Regions from separate parts of the Homo sapiens genome. Here regions 2 and 3 are each linked to region 1. Evidence: promoter capture Hi-C in 16 types of primary human blood cells and fetal thymus (Javierre and others, 2016). All regions are on one chromosome and are shown on one strand. Each heading gives the region's core, a stretch centred on a gene start or on the middle of the fragment in contact. The rest is flanking DNA. Distances are from core to core; before and after follow the strand shown.

What was found. Contacts are between HindIII fragments. The CHiCAGO score rates a contact against its expected background, and 5 or more counts as called.
Region 2: a contact is called between a fragment that was not itself captured here and the fragment with the promoter of SLC25A24 in region 1, in 1 of 17 cell types (non-activated CD4 T cells). The highest score is 5.3, in non-activated CD4 T cells.
Region 3: a fragment that was not itself captured here is called in contact with the fragment with the promoter of SLC25A24 in region 1 in 3 of 17 cell types (total CD8 T cells, M0 macrophages and naive CD4 T cells); the score reaches 8.3 in total CD8 T cells.

The regions. Positions count from the first base shown.
Region 1 is chr1:108,198,611-108,201,592 of GRCh38, reverse strand. SLC25A24 (solute carrier family 25 member 24) reads left to right here and starts at 1,250. Exons shown (of 10, transcript NM_013386.5): 1 at 1,250-1,637. The coding sequence starts at 1,455. RefSeq lists an enhancer at 1,032-1,326 and a silencer at 1,127-1,466. The HindIII fragment of the contact is 7,151 bases long and covers 1-2,957 here.
Region 2 is chr1:108,656,374-108,659,355 of GRCh38, reverse strand. HENMT1 (HEN methyltransferase 1) reads left to right here. Exons shown (of 8, transcript NM_001102592.2): 3 at 1,777-1,905. Among named protein-coding and RNA genes, the nearest start is that of HENMT1, 3.2 kb to the left of the region's middle. The HindIII fragment of the contact is 3,179 bases long and covers 1-2,982 here.
Region 3 is chr1:108,557,751-108,560,732 of GRCh38, reverse strand. EEIG2 (EEIG family member 2) reads right to left here and starts at 633. Exons shown (of 11, transcript NM_001010883.3): 1 at 168-633. The coding sequence starts at 304. RefSeq lists an enhancer at 1-42 and a silencer at 433-972. The HindIII fragment of the contact is 1,122 bases long and covers 859-1,980 here.

The sequences.
Region 1 (2,982 bases), core at 1-2,500:
GGTTTTCAAGGACAGAGAAAATTTGAAGTTTGAAGGCAGTTCCAAAGGAAGGCAATGATTCTTAATAAGACTGGAAGTTGGAAGTAATATAAAAAGATAAATCAGTTTCAAGATGATTTTACTAAGCAGGCAGCCCTTAATTTACAAATTCTAGATTCATACATATCTTAAACATACAAAATGATATGAGGAGAGGTAAGTTCAGGGTCTGAGTTCCTGGCTGTTGTTGGAACTGATTTCTGTGTAGTGATTCAGAAGATGTGAGACACCCTAATTTACAAGTACAGAGGTATCTTCTTTTCTGCAAACAGCAGTACAACAATAGTTCCTCTTACGCAGCTGTGAATGAACAGGATTATTACAATTAATGATATCTCATTTGATTGGCGCCTTAGAGAATTAAGACCTTTCACACCTAATATACAACTTTGTTGTGAAGGCAGATATTTATATTCTCATTTTACTGATGAGAGACTACCCGGAGACGCTATGTCACACCTGAAGGATTAGGTACTTTCTCTGTTAAGTCCAATGTTCCTTCCGTTATTCCATGCTAGGCAGTAATAAGTTCTGTCTTGCCTGAGTAATAAGCTCCAAACCTCGGAACTGCACCCATCTTGAGAAGGAGGAGGGCGCTGTGGTTTTTTCTGATAAGTGCAGCTGGCAGACACTCTATACGCTTAATCACGGGCAAATCCTAGCTAAGCTGCCTACCAAACTAGTCCTTCTTTTCCCCGTTGCCCACGCAGATGGCTGTTGATCTTTTCTGCAACAAATCCAGGAGTTTCTCCTTTTTGTTTTATAATTGCTCCAATAGATGCTTTAGGATTTAACTCTCTGCTTTTTAAAGCAGAATCGCCATCCCAGGTGTGCAACCACGAAAAAATTAGACATCCGTGAGAGACAATGCCCTCCATGGCCCAGTTTCCAGGCAGAGAGAAGCAGCTCTGGGCTGACCGCCAAGGCTCCGGCCCGAGAGGGTCTTTAAGTGGAGTAACCAGTCTTCAAGACCCCGCTCCCAAGCCACCGACGCGCTGACGCTGCAGCCCTGGACCTGCTGGGGGCCTCTTCCTCGGACCCGCATGCTGACAGCGGGACTGGCAACTGGGCAGAGGTCGACCCCGGGTCCGCACAGCACCTCCCGAGACCCAGCTCCCAGCTCCCTCACTTCCGGCTCTCTGGAGGCGGGCCCGGCCAGTGCCGCCGAGGCCAGCGCGGCGAGCTCCTCCCCAGCAGCGGCGGGACGGCCACACCCTGCGCTCCGCGCGGGCTCGGGTGGGGTCTCCGCTCCTGCGCCCTGCGCCCTGCGCGCCGCAGCCGCAACCCCGACGGCGCCCCAAACGCTGTTGCGCCGCGCGCCCCGCCCAGCCCGGCCTCGCGCTGGTCCCGGTCTCGCCCCGCAGCCCTCGATCTCCCGTGACTTCCTCGGCCAGGCCGCCTGCGCCTCTGGGACCATGTTGCGCTGGCTGCGGGACTTCGTGCTGCCCACCGCGGCCTGCCAGGACGCGGAGCAGCCGACGCGCTACGAGACCCTCTTCCAGGCACTGGACCGCAATGGGGACGGAGTGGTGGACATCGGCGAGCTGCAGGAGGGGCTCAGGAACCTGGGCATCCCTCTGGGCCAGGACGCCGAGGAGGTGGGTCGCCGCCGGGGCGCCGCCTGAGCGTAGGGAGGGCTGCGGGCGCTGGGGACACTGCGAGGACCGAGGAGGGCGGCGGCTTGAGGCGTTGCCAGGAGAGGAAGGAGGAACTGTGGCGCCCAGCGCTCCGGTGGCTTCAGAAACTCGGGCGTGGGGCCGCGACCGGCGACCCCGGTAACAGAAGTGGGTCATAATACGAAAGTCTACTGGTATTTGTCCAGATAAAATGAGTGTTGTGGACACTCTGGCCCACGGGCACTGTTAAATTTTTAAGACACTTTTGTCCTGAATCCATCCCAGGTTCTTTGTTTTCTGTTTTAATACCTTGCAGACATGTAATCCGTTTTAGCTGTCAGACTTCAGTGGGTCCCAAGTTTTGTATAAAGGCGCACACATTCGATCTCTTTCGAAGCTGCTTTGTTACAGCAGCTATGTGTATTGTCTACTGTTTGAAAACTGTTTGAAAACCAATCGCGTGTTTCCCCCACTTCCTGTTGAGAAGGAATGGCGGCATTCCATTGTTTAAGACATTCCTAGGTTAATGCCCTAGGTACATAAATTGATCTGAAGGGTTGACTTGACCTGCGACTGAGCAATTTCATTTTCTCTGAGTCATCTTAACTGTGCCCCTGAACTTCTGCCCCTTTAGTAGGGTGGAGATATGTGGAACTTCTCCAACCCTGTTGAAGCGTTCCCTGACACTGGCATTCTCTTATCCAAAGAGGGAAAGTGATTAGGTTACTATGAGGGCCAACAACTGTTATATAGTTATATTTCACTTCTCTTTTAATGTCTTTGGTAGTTATAGGCCTCTTCAGTTTACTGTTTCTTCTAGAGTCAGATTTAGTAAGTTACAATTTTTTTTGAAACTGCCTGTTCTGTCCAAGGTTCATAATACTCACCGATGATTTTATAACACTTCTGACTGAATCTGTAGGTAGGTTCTCTATTTCATTCCTCATATCTATCCTTTTCTCCCCTTCAATCTTGCCAAAGTTTTGTGTATTTTATTCATACTTTGAAGGAACCAACTTTTGGTACTTTGTGCTGATTGTCCCAGAAATGGCCCAGTTGGAGTTCCCCACCATGTCCAATCATTGGCTGGAAGCAGCCCAGGAAAGGGACGACCTTGCTGCAGTGCATCAGCAGATGCCAGGGTTAGAGGCTAGAGAGTGGAAGTCAACTGTGTTCCTCACAGTAGGTGCCTTTGAAGGGAGATCTCAGTGGTACAACTCCATGGTCCCTACAATATACAAAAGCTCTTTGGAGTGCTCAATGATTTTTAAGATTGTAAAGGGATCCTGAGATCAAAAAGCTTGAGAATTGCTGCTGTATCACCATT
Region 2 (2,982 bases), core at 169-2,668, 460 kb before region 1:
GTCTTGCTCTGTTGCCCAGGCTGGAATGCACTTGCCCAGTCACGGTTAACTGCAACGCTGACCACCTGGGCTCATAACTTCATTTTTAATTTTAAGTTTAAAATTGGATATTTGATTACATTATTGGAAAAAAGTATGTTTGGAATAACTTGGGTATGTGCATGTATATTTTAAATGTAAAGTTTTTAAATCCAATACAGACAAGTATTTCTGATGAAGGTTTTGGAACTGAGACGCAGAAGTACAAAATATGTAGCACACTGGATTTTGAAGACTTAATGTGAAAAACAAGAATCTAAAATCTCTTATATTGATTTTATGTAAAAATTATATTTTCGATATATTGGTTTAAATATTCTAATTCCGATTATAATTCCAATTCTTGGGCTACAAGAAAGTTGCCTACTTGTATTTTATCTATTGGACAGTGCTACATCAGATATCAAATACCCTTTGGACTACTTTTATAATACTGCTGTATAGGAATAGTAACAGCTATTACAGATTAATCTTATAAATTCTGTTTTTTCTTGGGGTCATGTTAAAGAAAAAATTAGTCTGACTTTATTGAGGACTGTTGCAATAAGAACATTGCAAAGATGAAGAATTTGACCAGATAGGGTGATCAGATATCAGGGGTAGAAGATTCTGTCTAAACTGACTTAGAAGTATTCTTATTAAAACTGGGCTAGGCAGCCCAAAGATAGGATTGGGGCCAGGGTTTGAGGTCTATTCAAGAAGATGGCTCAGAGGAACCTGACTGAAGTTTGGTCAGTGAGAGAGTCTTTTGCTGGTGTGTTGGAATGTTCCTACAGATGCCCAACTACTCAGGAGGCCGAGGCCAGAGGATTGCTTGAGCCCAGGAATTTTAAACCAGCCTGGGCGACATAGTGAGATCCTCTCTCTCTCTTAAAAAGAGTGTTGGCTGGGTGTGGTGGCTTACACCTGTAATCCCAGCACTTTGGGAGGCCAAGGCGGGTGGATCACGAGGTCAGGAGTTCAAGAAGAGCCTGGCCAACATGGTGAAACCCGTCACTACTAAATACAAAAATTAGCCAGGCATGGTGGCGCATGCCTGTAATGTAATCCCAGCTACTCGGGAGGCTGAGGCAGGAGAATTGCTTGAATTGAGGGAGGCGGAGGTTGCAGTGAGCTGAGATCGCGCCACTGCACTCCAGCCTGGGTGACAGAGCAAGACTCCGTCTTGGGGGGAAAAAAAAAATATATATATATATATGTGTGTGTGTGTGTGTGTATATATGTGTGTGTGTGTGTGTGTGTGTGTACATATATATGTGTGTGTGTGTGTATATATATGTGTGTGTGTGTAAGTGTGTGTACATATATGTGTGTGTGTGTGTGTATATATATGTGTGTGTGTATATATATATAGTCAGTCATTATAAATATTTTCCAGCCTCCTGCCTACTTGGACCACAGGCTTTGGCGACTCACTCCACAAAAGGTCCCTTATGGTTAGGAGTCATCTAATTGTTTTCATTGAATACATTCATTGGTAATGTTCCCTTCAGCTGAAACTAAGCTATAGGGAGCATACAGCTAGATTCTCTCTTGTTAAAAGGCATGAGAGGATGCTTACATGAACTGTGGAGGAAATGCAGTGCTACCTAATGATTTTAGGACAAAGGGTATGTGAAGGCCAGTGTGTTTTTCAAAGTGATTGGGGGAAATAAAGTTTTTTTTTTTTTGCCCCTTATTTAATTTCTGAAGTCATGCATGATTTAGAACCTGTCTTTTTTTGTTTGTGAACTTCAGTGCAGTAGTGTGGTTGACGGTAATTTTGAAGAAGTTCCCAGGGAGACGGCAATTCAGTTTAAACCTCCACTATACAGACAGCGGTACCAGTTCGTTAAAAATTTAGTGGATCAACATGAGCCTAAGAAGGTAGGTATTTCTCTTTCCAAACATTTAATTATTAAGACTAGTAGACTAGTCATATGAGGTGTTTTGTCAAATGGATTAGTATGGAGAGACTTTTCACAGGGGTTATTGCAATAGGGAGAATGCCGTAACCACAAGATCTGCAGGTGTCTCAAGAGTTAAGCAAAAGGGGTTTTTCTTTTACTGGAGAAGTGAACAAAGCTAGAAACTAGGGAGGTGGGATGAGAGGGTGGTTTGAAAGGACAGTGGAATGGGGAGCCTTAAGGAGGGGGCTGTTTCCTCAGGCTGTAGTGCAGGGCCCTGGGGGAAGAAGTAAAGTTTGAATAAAGTATGGTTAAAAAAGGAATTTTCTTCCCATTGATCAGTGGGGACAAGTATTCATGATAATCATTTGAGGCAAAGAATGGAAACACAAGGAATCTTATCTAAGTTTTATGGAGGAGGGTGGTTTTTTGCAGTGAGCCCTTTCCTGGAACACAAAGCACAGGTGGATTCCTTTAGCAGATGCCAGAAACACAGGGCTCAGACAGAATTCAGCATTGTCAGGTTCAAATGTGAAGAAAATCTTAAGATTTTATAGTTGGATGTGATCTTGTAGGTACCGTACTTCTAGAGCATTTAGTTAGAATATCAGGCAAACTGGTATTGTAGCCACAGGTATTGTGGTTCTTTTAAAATTAGATGATAATGGGCCGGGTGCAATGGTTTACACCTGTAATTCCGGCACTTTGGGAGGCTGAGGCAGGTGGCTAGCTTGAGACCAGCCTGGCACCATAGTGAGACCCTGTGTCTACAAAAAATAAAATTAGCTGTGCATGGTGGTGCGTGCCTATAGTCCCAGTTACTCAGGAGGCTGAGGTGGGAGGATCCCTTGAGCCCAGGAGGTTGAGGCTGCAGTGAGCTGTTATCACCTGCATTCCAGCCTGGGCAACAGAGAAAGAGCCCGTCTCAAAAAGAAAATTAGATCATAATGAACCTACTCGGTTAACTTCAGAGTAAAGTCATAATTGCATATAATCTACATCCATCCATCCATACCTGGTTACTATACTAATGGATTGGATGTGAATTAGATGCGGG
Region 3 (2,982 bases), core at 170-2,669, 360 kb before region 1:
CCAGCTGAGAAGAACCCATTTGCAAAGCACTTTGCAGATCAATAAATTCGACTGATTTTAGAGCGGTCCCTAGGGAAAGGCGAGCAAATGGGCCAAGGAGAGATGCTGCCCATCCAACAAGCCCTGGCCAAGCAGAAAGGGGCGAGGCGGCGCGGGAGGCGAGTTACCTGGAGGACTCGGCGGTGAAGCTGCCGCCGTCCAGCAGCCGCATCTTGCAGAAGAGGACCCCATTGACGAAGGGCACTGAGGAGAGCTCCTCGAGCTCGAAGTCCACCTTAAACTTAAACTTCTTCTTCTTCATCATCGTGAGAGCCAGGCGCCTGCAAGCTGGGCGCACGGCCGGGCGCCGCCGCCTCAGCTTGGCCGAGCCCCGGATCAGCCCAGCCCCATGGCCGGGGCCGCGAGCTGTGCGCGGGGGCGCGGCCGGGGGGCGCCGCAGGCCGGCCGCGGCCGGGGCCGCTGCCGCCGCCTCTCGCGGCAGCCTGGGCCGGAACGCGGCGGCAGCTGCGGCGCGGACCCCGACCGCCCGCGGGGAGCGGTCGTGCTGCAGCTCGCCCGGGGAGGTGAGCGCCCTTTTGGTGCTCAGCTCGCCGCCGCCGCCGCCGCCGCCTCCGCCGCCGCTGCCGCCCGTCTGGGAGTCGGGAGAGGCGAGGCTCGAGGAACCGCCGCCTCAGCGCCTCGGGGGTCGGGGGCGCCCCCAGCGGCCGCGGCCTGCAGCGCACGGCGGGGCGGAAGCCGGAGGGAGGGCGGGGACTTTGTGGGCGGGCGCGGGCTTGGCCGCGGACTCTAACCCGCGACGGCAGTTAGCACGTCACGCCTTTCTGGGGTTAAAAAAAGACAAACCCGACAGAGAAAGCTTCCTTCTACCGCTTCCTCTCCGCCTTTCTTTTCAGTTTTTGCACCGCCTCCTTTCTCCCCCACCCCCTCCAGTGGTTTCTTTCCTTTGGGTTTGAGAGCCATGGGTTAATAGAGGCAATTAAAATCTCAGCGTTGTTTTGGTCAAATTGAAATCCTAAAACTAAAATTTCCGTTAGGTACTCTAAATTCACGAGCCTTCAAATATAAAAGGAAGATAAGGTAGGAAAAAGGAAAATGATGTGCTGAGGGACTATCAAGGGCCCAGGCACCGTACTGCTGCAGGCGCTTTCTCTGGGGTATAGCTTATCTAGTTCCTGTCACCCAGGACAAAAGATAAAAGAGCAAAGAAGCAGTTAAAATAATACCCTCCCTTTAAAAATTTGTCTGTCTATACTGAGAACTGAAATGCTTAAAATCAAATTCTGCAGGCAGTCTGGCATGGCTACGCTGTAATCCCAGCTACTCGGGAGGCTGAGGAGGGAGGTTAGCCTGAGCCGGGGAAGCGGAGCTTGCAATGATCGGAGATCGCGCCACTGCACTCTAGCCTGGGCAACAGAACAAGCCCCTGTCTTAAAAACAAAACAAAATCTTCAGAGCAGGCTTAAAAAAAAATCTCCCTAGGGGAATAACAATTACCTGCCTTCTGTAATCATGCATGTATTGTTACAATGAATGTTACAAAGTTGGTTACGTGATGTTCATGTTTTTAAACTGAGTTATTGTCATTTTCACTCAGATTCTGCCACAGTAATTCTGAAAGGGTTTAATTGAAAATATTTTCTTTCTCAGTTTACTCGTTTACTCATTCATTCATATAAAAAAATTGCTTAAAATGTCAATCATCGGCTAGACCCCATAACCAAAAGCCAATAACTGCCCTCAAGAATTTTACAATCTAGTGAGGAAGACATGTTTAGACAGGTCATTAAAAAAACACAACCTAGCACCAAGCTATGTAGAACTCAGAGAAGCAATTAATTGAAGTTAATCAGTTTTCTGAATTTCAAAGGATGAAAATGATTTGGGACAAAGTGGGGTAAGTTGTTCTAGGAGAAATAAATTAAAAAAAAAAAAAGATTCAGAGGCAGGTTCGGGGGTGGGGATTTGGTAATGGATAAAGCTTCTTACCCTGCAGGACAGGGGGCAAAGACAGTGAGATGCATTTGGGGACTTTGAGATTTGTCATTTAGAGCACTGGATGAATGTTAATTTCATTGACTGAACATTGAAAGCAAGAGGAGGGCAGGTTGGGAATGGAAGAGATAATGAGTCTTTATGGGATCTGCTTGCAGTACATCTAGGGAGAGAGAGGCAGCCTTAGCTCATAAAAATGCATTGGCAATTGAAAATATACATTTGGGAATTGAGGTAATCGCTGATGGCTGAAGCCCAAAAGGTGGATAAGGATGAGTTACTCTGAAGAATATTTAAAGGGTAGGCAAAGAGGAGATCGTGAAGGTGCCTAAGAACAAGCAGTCAAGAGAAAAAGGAGATGAAGAAAGAGATGGCCTGGAAGCCCAGACGGTTTTAATCATGTAACATTCGTAGTTACAAAGTTCTATTGTGTGCCAGGCACTATGCTGGGTACTAGAGATGCAAATGAATAAGACATAGGGGCTTATAAAGGAATGGAGAAAAACAGAGATATGCAAACAGATCAACTAAAGTGTGTGTGTGTGGTATGTGAGTATGTGTGTGTGAGAGAGAGAAGAGAGAGAGAAAGAAAGAGAGAGAGCAATCTGTGATCCATGTAGGACAGAGGACCATTTCAAGAGAGTGCTGCAGAGCAGTCCCAGAGGATTTGGACTGAAAAGAAGCTACTGAATTGAAGGTCTAGGAGGTCATTGGTAATCTTGGCAAGAGAAGTCATCATAAAAGATAGTGACAAAGTAAGATGAAAAGTGACAAAGTAAGTGAAAAGATGACAGTGAAAAGTAAGATAGTGACAAAGTAATGTGGGTAAATAAAAATTATATTTTTATTGATGTTTTTCTGATTTTTTTGTCAGCGAATGAAAAGAGAGAGAGAATGGTGACCAGAGGAGGACAGTTCAATCTTTTTCAATAACATTCAGGAACTATCCAATATTTATTGAGTGTCTATTAGGTGCCAAGCACCTTAATA